Linked DNA regions of Homo sapiens: regions 1, 2 and 3 are each linked to region 4. The links are contacts of gene promoters, found by promoter capture Hi-C in human tissues and cell types (Jung and others, 2019). All regions are on one chromosome and are shown on one strand. Each heading gives the region's core, a stretch centred on a gene start or on the middle of the fragment in contact. The rest is flanking DNA. Distances are from core to core; before and after follow the strand shown.

What was found. The method cuts DNA at HindIII sites, captures the fragments that hold promoters and counts their contacts. A contact is called where the count stands out against the background at its distance.
Region 1: a fragment that was not itself captured here is called in contact with the fragment with the promoter of UTRN in region 4 in 3 of the 25 tissues and cell types used here (hippocampus, lymphoblastoid cells and spleen).
Region 2: a fragment that was not itself captured here is called in contact with the fragment with the promoter of UTRN in region 4 in 5 of the 25 tissues and cell types used here (bladder, dorsolateral prefrontal cortex, liver and 2 more).
Region 3: a contact is called between a fragment that was not itself captured here and the fragment with the promoter of UTRN in region 4, in 5 of the 25 tissues and cell types used here (adrenal gland, heart left ventricle, hippocampus and 2 more).

The regions. Positions count from the first base shown.
Region 1 is chr6:144,180,588-144,183,287 of GRCh38, forward strand. All of the region lies in intron 1 of STX11 (syntaxin 11), which reads left to right. Among named protein-coding and RNA genes, the nearest start is that of STX11, 31 kb to the left of the region's middle. The HindIII fragment of the contact is 4,950 bases long and covers 1-2,700 here.
Region 2 is chr6:144,216,902-144,219,601 of GRCh38, forward strand. No RefSeq gene overlaps it. Among named protein-coding and RNA genes, the nearest start is that of TRL-TAA1-1, 1.7 kb to the left of the region's middle. RefSeq lists a silencer at 1-2. The HindIII fragment of the contact is 9,184 bases long and covers 1-2,700 here.
Region 3 is chr6:144,384,619-144,387,318 of GRCh38, forward strand. The region is part of intron 2 of UTRN (utrophin); the gene reads left to right. Among named protein-coding and RNA genes, the nearest start is that of SNORA98, 20 kb to the right of the region's middle. The HindIII fragment of the contact is 6,242 bases long and covers 1-2,700 here.
Region 4 is chr6:144,283,972-144,286,671 of GRCh38, forward strand. It overlaps UTRN (utrophin), which reads left to right and starts at 1,364. Exons shown (of 75, transcript NM_007124.3): 1 at 1,364-1,850. It overlaps LOC124901418, which reads left to right and starts at 2,527. Exons shown (of 1, transcript XM_047419641.1): 1 at 2,527-2,700. The coding sequence starts at 2,700. RefSeq lists an enhancer at 734-803 and silencers at 934-993, 1,204-1,303. The HindIII fragment of the contact is 2,482 bases long and covers 1,081-2,700 here.

The DNA of each region.
Region 1 (2,700 bases), core at 84-2,583, 100 kb before region 4:
CCTTTCACCTCCCACTATGACTCTGGGGCCTCCCCAGCCATGTGGTACTATAAGTCCAATTAAACCTCTTTTCTTCCCAGTCTTGGGTATGTCTTTATCAGCAGTGTGAAAATGGACTAATACAATGTGATTGTCACCTCCACTCTTTGGTCTGCTGAGGTAGGTGGAAACCTGCTTTCTGAATTGTTCCTTCCTGATATGACAGAAAATTTTAAGATTCTATGTGCCAAATATAGTAGGCTATTCAAAGCAGGATCTAGGTCTCAATGGCTAGAATATTTAACTAATAGAATATCACCATCCTTCCTTGTTCCCTGTGAATGCTATCAGAGTATTTATTCATGTACCTGAGGGTGCCTCATCATAGTAAGCTCAGTCTTCAATTTTATTCATACTCCCATGCCTGCAACAATTATAATTTTCCATCATAAAATGAAGGGATCAGAATAAACTATTTCAAACATTCTTGATTCCTTTTCCTTTTGAGCTTCAGAGATTGTTTTTATGAAAGTGAGTTTTCAGCTGACTTTCTTATTTAGCCTCCATACCAGGGAGCCAGAAGGCAGTGCTTATGAAAGCCACCATCTTTCCAGTGGGGGAGAGAGGCCAGTAGCTACCCCTTTTCCTTCTCTATCAGGTTTTTGCTCATCGAGATTGCCCCCAAGCTAGGAATTATTATAAGTTCTCCAGAATTGCATGATAATTATGAATAAAAAGCTGACATGGGCCAGGTGCAGTGGCTCATGCCTGTAATCCCAGAACTTTGGGAGGCTGAGGCAGGTGGATCACCTGAGATCAAGAGTTTGAGACCAGCTTGGCCAACATGGTGAAACCCCATCTCTACTAAAAATACAAAACTTAGCTGGGCGTGGTGGTGCATGCCTGTAATTCAAGCTACATGGGAGGCTGAGGCAGGAGAATCACTTGAACCCGGGAGGCAGAGGTTACAGTGAGCCGAGATAGTACCACTGCACTCCAGCCTGGGCAACAGAGCAAGACCACCTCAAAAAAAAAAAAAAAAAAAAAAAAAGCTGACATGGTAGGTATCTATGGAATGGGTCACAAATTTGAGTATGCATTATAATCACCTGGAGATCATCCTAGGCCTACCGAATCAGAAACTCTAGGTGCCCAGGCATCTGTAATCTTTGAAGCTCTCCAGAAGATTCTGTCACCTCTTGCAGACCGAGGACCACTGAGCTACCATCATCTCTTTGTTCCTTTGTTTTCTCTTACACAAAACTTTATTGCTCAATGAAAAAAGGCTTAAGCAATACCCCCTTCCTTCCTTATTGGATCTGGTTTTCAGTACAGATTATATGCATGCCTGAAAAGAAAATTAGAAAGCAGAAGCAGATTTTTGGTAGTTGGTTGTCAATTTTCTTTTGAATTCTTCACCTCCATGCAAATTGAAGCAGGACTTATTTTTAGCAACTTGATGAATGCAATTTACCAAAGTTTATTACATTATCTTTTATTACAATAAGACAGGAAGGTCAGTGGAATTGTCTGATTTTTCTTTCTCATTTACCATAGTTCTCTTTCTAGGAACTCATAGTACAGAATCAAGCTATGGGATATATAGGTTATTTTGATTCTCTATTTGTGCCCACTTCTATATTTTTGTATAACTTCAGTAGTGTATACACTTTTAACCTTTTTGGAGACATTCTTAGGAATAGCAGTCTCTTCGTTGACTTTCTGTTGTAGTTTTCCTAATGTTTGCTCCCTGGTGACCAGGAGACCTTCTATGTCAGTGGAGACAACTCATCCAAGGCTGGCTGAGCCAAGAGAGGTGGGCAGGAAGGCCAGGTGAAGGCCCCCTTCCCTCCTTTACCACACCTCAATAGAGAATCTTTATGTCTCCTGTACCCTTTCTTTTTCTCTTATTAGCACATTATGGACTTGCGCCTTCACATGAGCTTGGGCCCTTACCTGATTTATAATTTGCTATCTATGACTTTATGGTTGTTCAATCTTGAGAAGGAATGACTGTCCCTGGACATCTTCCAAAACCATTTTCTATATGATTGAATTGTACTTGACTCTTCTTATTGTGATGAGATGATTTCCCCCAATAGCTTTTTAATGGCTGTAGGAGAGCAATACAGAGCACAGGACCTGTCTAGGATAAGCAGGATACATACAAATGATCCCTAGTGTCCCAGGGCGTGGTACAGTCCCTTATCTACCCATTTCCTTCCATTGAAGTGCCTTGTAAGGCTTGGCCAACATGTAAGGAAGGAAGGCATCTCTCACCTATTCTTGCCTTGTTCATCAAAATGCATCCATTCCATCTCATCCACTTGTTGCATGGTAGACTATATTGGGTACTAACTTAAGCAGATGGGTACAGCTCAACTCTACGCAAACTAGCTAATGTGCTTTCCCCAGGTAGCATAAAATGTTAACTTGATTGCCATGCATAGACTTTTAAAAGTTGCTAAGGAGTTAGTCCTTTAAACGAATAGTATTTATTGTTTTATGGGGGTTTTTAAATTATGAAATGTGTGTGGACATTATAAAAATTTTGGAAAATACAGAAAAGCAAAAGGAAGCAATTTAAACCATGTATAATTCCACAACTCAAAGAAAACTATAATTAACACTTTGATGTGTATTACTCAAGTTTCTGTTTCAGAATGCTGCACATTCTCTTTCTCCATAACTACTTTTTATGCCTAACAGAGTATATATGCT
Region 2 (2,700 bases), core at 187-2,686, 67 kb before region 4:
TCTCTCTTTTTTTTCCCTTTCTCTCTCTCTCCCTTTTTTTTCCCCCGCCAATGTTAATTTTGTGCACACAACTCTTCTATTAACTCCTAGAAGGCGGAGACTGTATCATCCTAGATGTAAAATGCACTCCAACTTGGGTTCGGCTTAGAATTTTTAAATACAGCGTGGTCAAGTTTTTTTTTTCTTCTTCTCCCTTTAAAATTGTTTGTTTAATGAGAGCCATCTAAGAATTTTTAAAAGTTGCAAGTACACTGCAAATAACTTTTTTTCCTCTCTTGAATCATTTAAAAGTAAAATACCTAGTGGATGCCCAAGTACTACTATTAAAATCAGGAAATTAACATTGATGATTTAATACCATCTAATCCTCGGTGCGCAATCGGTCACCAGTTGTCGCAAGAATGTTCTTTATAGCAAAAGGCTCCTCTTCAGAATGATGCGTTGCATTTACTTGTCCTGTCTCCTTCGGCTTCTTCCGTGTGGATCAGCTCCTCAGCCTCTGCTGACTTTCATGATCTTGACACTTCTGCTGACAAGCCAGCCGGTTTGTAGAATGTCCCTTTGTCAGTCTAGGTTTTCTGGTGTTTCCTCCTGATGAGATCCAGGCTCTGTTTATTTAGCAGGACTTCCACAGAAGCCATGCAGTGTTCTCACGGCAGCCTCTCAGGTCGCATGATTTCCGTGTGGCCTGCTTCTCTGCCAGGCTTCTCCTCTGTAAAGTTACTGTTTTCCCTTTGTGATTAGTACCTGTTTTAGAGGGAAGTGCTTTGAAGCTGTGTAATATCCGGTGCCTTATCAAATTTTCATTTTATTCAATTATTTATGGAATTATAAGTTATGTACGTATGTATCCATGGTGCCCTATTTTAATTAATGGTTACAATCCATTCATTCATTTTGATGCTCAGAGTGTCTCAGATTGGGCCAGTGACAGCCCATTCAAGCTGACTTTTGACCTGTCTGCATTATTCTTTAGCACTTCCTTACTTCCTACTCCAAGATGGTCCAGATTTACCTTGTGCTTTCCTGACCCAGTACTAGAATCAGCCATTTTCTAAAGATCCTTGGTTCCTTTTAGTGGAGAATGGTATCTAGAAACCAAGGTCTCAGTGCTAGGTGTGCTCATTGCTTTTGAGGTGTTGCTACTTCCAGGCCCTCTGGGTAGACAGAATTAAGGAGTGTGTGTGTGTGCATATTTATCTATTTGTATATCTATATAAATATATATCTATATTTATTCATATATCTTTATGTATATCAAGGAGTTTATATATACCTCCAATTCTGATCCAACACTATAGACTTTGTTCTATTTTGTCTCCCTGTCCATGTTTGTAACTCCCTGAATTCCTGCCTCCCCAGTGCAGATCTATACATTGCTTAAGCTCATGTAATGGCTTTAGAATTGAATTGTTCAAAAAGGAAAGAGAAAAAGAGTGTCTACATATTTTGGAAATAAACATCCTGCCAGCAACTGAGAACAGGCTCTGAGCCACTCACTATTAGATACTTGGGATGTGCAGATAAATAACCCGGCCTCTGTCTCAGTGAGCTCAGATAGCAAGAGACAGAGATTTTAATAAGCCACATTTGTAATGAAAAAATATGAATTATGCCCAAGGTGCTAAAGGAGTGGTTTGGGAAGGCCTGACTCTTCCTCAGAGAGCCAGCTTTAGTTGAGAGGTGAAAGAAGAGAAGCAGGGATGAGGGAGGGGCAAGAGGGAGAGGGAGACAGATACAGGTGGGGTAAGCCACGTGGGAGCCATCTGGGGGCCCTGTGAAGTATGATGCCCAGGATGCCCTGAAGGATTTGCAACAGAAGGAACCTGACAAGTGTTACATTTGGAAGTATCTGTGTCTACCGATGTAGAGAATCTTGGTCTGTCTTTATAGGCTTGGGATGGGGGGCATGTTGAATTGGTAGAAAATATTTTGGGGGAAAAATTGTTTAATTCTGTTAATAGCCAGTTAGACTGAGCTCAGTCTTTCTCTTCCTCCTTAAAAGCCCAGGATTTTTTCCTTGAAAAGCAGATTTGTTATATTAGATTCTTTATATATTTTCAAAAGTTCTTAAAACATAGCGAATATATTGAAGTTAAATTTGAATCGTTAACTTAGTTTGAATTAAATTTACATTAGTTTAAATTAAATTTGAATCATTAAATTTGTATACTGCCACTAAACTTATAATGATTTTCTAATAATTATTTTAACAAAAAGAACTTAAGTCAATCCTTTGAATTAAAAATTAACAGTGTGGCTTTATAAACATTCTCTGTGGGTTTGAACTAGTTGTAAGTTATTCAAAATTGTTTATTTTCTATTGGGCTTTTACATAGATCTCTGTAGGAAAAGCTGCTACCAATGTATTTACGCAGTGACACCTACTGGTTAAGTTGAGGCAAATTTTTTGTTAAATTCTGTCTGCCTTGTTCTGACTATAGAATTCTGATAATTTGCTCCACAGTTACTGTGTTTGGAAGCAGATTCAGGCTATATCTATGTCAGCCAGTAAATTGACTTTCTTTTTTCTCTTGTAATCATTAATGATAAACCTGCCATTGAAAATAATCCTGAATCACTGATACAACTTGCACGAGACATTATTTTCATTGTATCAATAGAAGCTTTATTGCACTGCATCTTCTTTGTTTGTTTCAGTTCATTTTCCAATTCCAAATCTGGCTATGAAGTTGAAGG
Region 3 (2,700 bases), core at 111-2,610, 100 kb after region 4:
TCACTATTCTAGGTACCTCATGTAAGTGGAATCATACCATAGTTTTCTTTATGTGACTGGCTGTGTCACTTAGCACACTGTCCTCCATGTTCATCCATGTTGTAGCATGTGTCTGAATTTCCTTTCTCTTCAAGGCTGGTTATTATTCCATTTTATGTAAATATCACATTTTGCTAATTAATTGATCTGTTTGTGGACACTTGGGTTGCTTCCATCTTTTAGCTTTTGTGAATAGCGTTCCTATTAACATGGATGTACAAATATCTCTGAGATTCTGCTTTCAGTTCTTCTGGTTATATCATTGCATATGCTTTTTACTCAGATCCCGTTTCTCCTTGACATAACCCTAGGTAATGGTAGTTAGCTTACTCTTATCTTGAGGGAAATGCTAAAGTTTTGAGGAAAGATCATTCATCCAAATCTTTTTGTTTGATTGACTCTTGCTAACCTCCAAGAAAAATTTGTGATCACGAGTTATATTTTATACAGTCCATAGGTTCAGGGAAGGGAGTAATTCTAGTGTTCCTAAAAGATGCCATTGCAGTGCTGTAATGCAGAAAAACGCTAGGTTTTGGGGTGTCCTTAGGAAGGAGACAAGAAAGAAAACAGAGAACGTTATCCTTCCTTTGCAAAGCCATGTTGACTGTGCACATGGATTACGATCTGAGATTCTGGTCTCCTACTTAAATGATTTAACAGTGGAAGGTATTCTAGTGAAGGAAACCCAAGTCCCGGAGCGAATGCATTTGTTACTTTTGTAAAACTGACTAAGGTGATCAGTACTCTTCAGTCTAAAAATATGAAAGTGGAAAGAAGACATACTTACCAGCTATAAGCTTATTTCAGAAAAGCAAACATAAACTTATTCTTCTAACCTTCAACAGTTATCTGGACTTTTTGATGCTTAAAAGACCAGCAAATGTTCAAGACAAATGAGAGGAAGAGCTATTTTACACTGAAGATATAATTAGCAAGTTTGCAGTACCCAGTGATAGTATAGACTGAATTTACAAATTTTTTCTTTTAAAGGCAATAAATGTCAGACTCACAGTAGACTATTAAATAAAGACAGTGCTGCCAGAACTCTATTTTTTTTTTTTTTTCTTTTGAGACGGAGTCTTGCTCTTTCGCTCAGGCTTGAGTGCAGAGGTGCGATCTCGGCTCAGTGCAACCTCCGCCTCTTAAGTTCAAGTGATTCTCCTGCCTCAACCTCCTGAGTAGCTGGGATTACAAGCGCACACCACCACACCTGGCTAATTTTTGTATTTTTAGTAGAGACAAGGTTTCATCATGTTGACCAGGCTGGTCTTGAACTTTTGACTTCAGATGATCCACCTGCCTCAGCCTCCCAAAGTGCTGGGATTATAGGCATGAGCCACTGTCCCCGGCCCAGAACCCTAATTTTTAACAGTGACAAGAAGTTAACATGAAGGAAGTCATTAGGAAAGTGAGTGGCCTGTAAATGAAGTTTCTTGCGCTTTTGCTCAGGCAATGGATTTTATCTGTCCCCCTCATCCAACCCTACCTGAATGAGCTTTTTAATTAAAAAATTCATTAGTAAGGCTGGGAGCAGTGGTTCATGCTTGTTATCCCAGCACTTTGTGTGGTGTAGGCGGGCGGACTGCTTGAGCCCCGGAGTTCGAGACCAGCCAGGGCAACATGGCGAAACCTCGTGTCTACAGAAAAATACAAAAATTAGCCAGGCATGTTGGCACATGCCCTCCAGGTACCTGGGAGGCAGAGGTGGGAGAATCGCTTGAGCCTCGGAAGTTGAAGGCTGCAGTGAGCCGTGATCATACTACTGCACTCAAGCCTAGGTGACAGAGTGAGACTCTGTCTCAAACAAACAAACAAAAAGTATTAGTAGTTTATGTGAACCTTTTCATAGTTATGAAAATTAAAAATAAGAATATGTATTTTTCAATATGAGACTAAACCTTTCAATTATTTTATTTATTAACTTCCAATTTATACCCTTTTAGGCAAAGAGTTCTGTGATTTATGGGCCAATTTTTAAACTGTGATGTCCATGGGAAGAAATTTTTAGCCCTGAGTTTTGAAGGGGAATGCAGTGTTCCTTTCTGACTTGTTTTTCCTGCTTATTATAAATATTTATCTTGGACAAAGGATTGCATTTTAGCGGATGTGCAATTTTACAAATTTAATTATTAAAATGACTCTTCTTCCTTTTTTTATGATCTTACATTTTGTTTTTAACTTGTCATGGCGGATATTAAAACACTCCAAATAAAGACAAAAAAACTCAATATAAAAAAAAACCAAAAACCACTTCCGAAATACTCCATTTTTTCTTATTTAAAAAAATGCTATTTATAGTAGTAGTTGGCATTTCATCAAAGTACATAAGCAAAGGACAGATACTCCTCATTTTTTCCCAGGTTTCTATTCTTTTTCTGAAAGTGAGTAAAATATTAGGCTTTGGAGAAAGTCTAGGTAGTTTGGTGTGATCTGTTGGTAGCATTTTGTTTTGCCTTAATCTTCTATTTTTTTCTTCCCATTTTATTTATTTATTTTTTTGAGATGGAGGCTCATTCACTTTGTCGCCCAGGCTGGAGTGCAGCGGCGCGATCTTGGCTCACTGCAACCTCCGCCTCCTGGGTTCAAGAGATTCTCATGTCTCAGCCTCCTGAGTAGTGGAAATTACAGGTACGTGCCACCATGCCTGGCTAATTTTTGTAT
Region 4 (2,700 bases), core at 114-2,613:
CAAGTTAATCCTTTGGATTTTATTTGGCTTATACGTAGAAAATCATCAAAAGGAAGGAAACTGTCCTAGAAACCTTACAAGGAAGAGTCTCTTTTGGGAATCTCCTACCTGCCCCCTCCCTGGAGCACTTAGGGATGGATGGGGGAAACTTTCACTATAACAAAAGGCGAGTAAACTCTTTCTGAAAATTAGTTTAAGGCCCCTAGTGGTTTAATCTTTACTGCCGCGTAAATTAACTCAAATATTAAGCCAGCAATAAACCGGCGCTCCAGTATCAACCATCCTTTTCTCTGTTAATACGAACTAGGAACTCAGGTTGCTGTTTTCTTTCCCCTCCCACGTGTGCTGATCGTGTAAAAGAATCACAGGAACACACGAGCAATGAAATGTGTAAATAAGAAAAATGCACACACATCACGAGCTCATTTCTTCCCAGATATTTTTTGGTCAACCTCTCAAGCTTGGAACAGGCTCTATAACAGATGTGCGTTTGTGTGTGCATATTGGAAAACAGAAAAATAAGGTCAGCGCAAACACTACTTGTAATACAAACTAATGTAAGAGAAAACTTCTTTTTCAATATTAACAACGACACTAGAGAAATAATGTAAAATAAATATACGGTTGGAACTAGGGGTAAAAAAAAAATCAGCAACGTCAGCAAACTGAGATGGGGTGAGTTGGAAGGCAGATTGGAATTTATCTCTTAAAAAAATATCACCCTAACTAGAGACCTGTTTTGCCTAAGGGGACGTGACTCACATTTTCGGATAATCTGAATAAGGGGAATTGTGTCTGCTCGAGGCATCCATTCTGGTTCGGTCTCCGGACTCCCGGCTCCCGGCACGCACGGTTCACTCTGGAGCGCGCGCCCCAGGCCAGCCAAGCGCCGAGCCGGGCTGCTGCGGGCTGGGAGGGCGCGCAGGGCCGGCGCTGATTGACGGGGCGCGCAGTCAGGTGACTTGGGGCGCCAAGTTCCCGACGCGGTGGCCGCGGTGACCGCCGAGGCCCGGCAGACGCTGACCCGGGAACGTAGTGGGGCTGATCTTCCGGAACAAAGTTGCTGGGCCGGCGGCGGCGGGGCGAGAGCGCCGAGGGGGAGCCGGAGCGCTGCAGAGGCGCGGGCCGGAGGGCTGGCGCTGATCTGCACCCTTCTCATCTGGAGAGCGGACCCCTGGCTGCCCGGAGGCGAGCCCCTTCCCGGGGGGTGGGGGCGGCAACGCGCGACCCAGCGGTCCTGCGCCCCACCCTCCCTCCTCCGCCTCCAGCGCTCGGCTCCAACAAAGGGGCAGGCCCGCAGCGGGGAGGAGGAGGAGGAGCCGCCGAAGGAGCGAGCCTCTCTCGCGCACAAAGTTGTGGAGTCGTTTTTCCTCGGAGCAGGGAAGCGGGCAGCAGCAGCCGGCCGCGGGCTTTCTCCCGCCGAGGGGCGAGGAGGAGCCTCTGGCTCCAGAAGCCGATTGGGGAATCACGGGGAGCGGCGCCCCCCTTCTTTTGGGTCATTTCTGCAAACGGAAAACTCTGTAGCGTTTGGCAAAGTTGGTGCCTGCGCGCCCCTTCCAGGTTTGCGCTTTGACTGTTTTGTTTTTGGCGGAACTACCAGGCAGGAAGATTGCACAAGTAAGGGGCGTTTTCAGTCGGGTGTCAATTTCTCTTTCTTTCTTTCTTTTTTTAAAATTTCGGTTCGTGTCTGCTTCTCCAAGCTTTATTTTTTTTTTTAAATACATCGCACCACCAAACTAACACTCGCACACACCCCCGCGGTTACTCCGTGTCAAACTCCTAGAGGAGCCCTTGGCCAGCTCGGGGTGCGGCGGTGGCGACCGGCAGGCGAGGAGGCCCGCGGGCAGCAGGTAAGCCCATGCATTATTGAAGCCTCGGGCTGGTAATGTGACTACAGCCCCCGAGGGAATGGGGCGGGGGCCGGGAGGAGGATGGCTCTTTCTGTGGTTCTTCCGCCTGGGATCGGCGTCCCGAGCTGCTTCCCAAGTCCCAGAGTCGAAGATGGGAGTAACTTTTGCGTGCCCTTTCCTCGGGGCCTCAGTTTAGCTCCCCGCGGTGCGAGAGAGAATGCCGGAGGCGTGGAGAGCTCGGGCGTGGAGGTCCTTGGGATCCGTACTAGTTGTGAACGATCCAAACTTATCTGACCAGCTCTGTGCTGCCTCCCTGCTCCCCTAATCTTCCTCCCCGCCGGGGTGACAGAGTCGCCCTCCGTGCATCGCGCGGTGCAGGGCGCTGGGCCAGTGATTTGCAAGAGGGGACGTGGCCTCTTAGGAGAGTCTGTCACAGACACCCGGGCCCGGGGAAGGCGGGGCTCCGGCGGTGTCCACAGGAGAGGGTGGGCAGAGGGTGGCTGTGTGGTCGGCGGCCAGCGGAGCGCTTCCCAGCCAGCCGCCCGGCGGGGAACGTGCTTGACCTCTGGGTGGTTGCTGCTCCCAAGGGTGGGGCTCCGGAGAGTGTGGCGCGATCGCCAAGCTCCCTGGCAGCGGCCCTGGAGAGACTGAGGGGACAGGAGGAGGGGGGCGCCCCATTGGTGTGTAGTCCCGCGCAGTCGCCGGCTCTCCTTTTCCGGACTCTGGGGATCTCTTGCTGCAACTGACAAGGTAATTCATGCCCCGCTTTGGCCCGGGGTCCGAGGCTGTGGTTGCTCAAGGCCACTTAAAAACCAACAAAGCACCAATTGAAGGCTGTGCAACTTTCAGA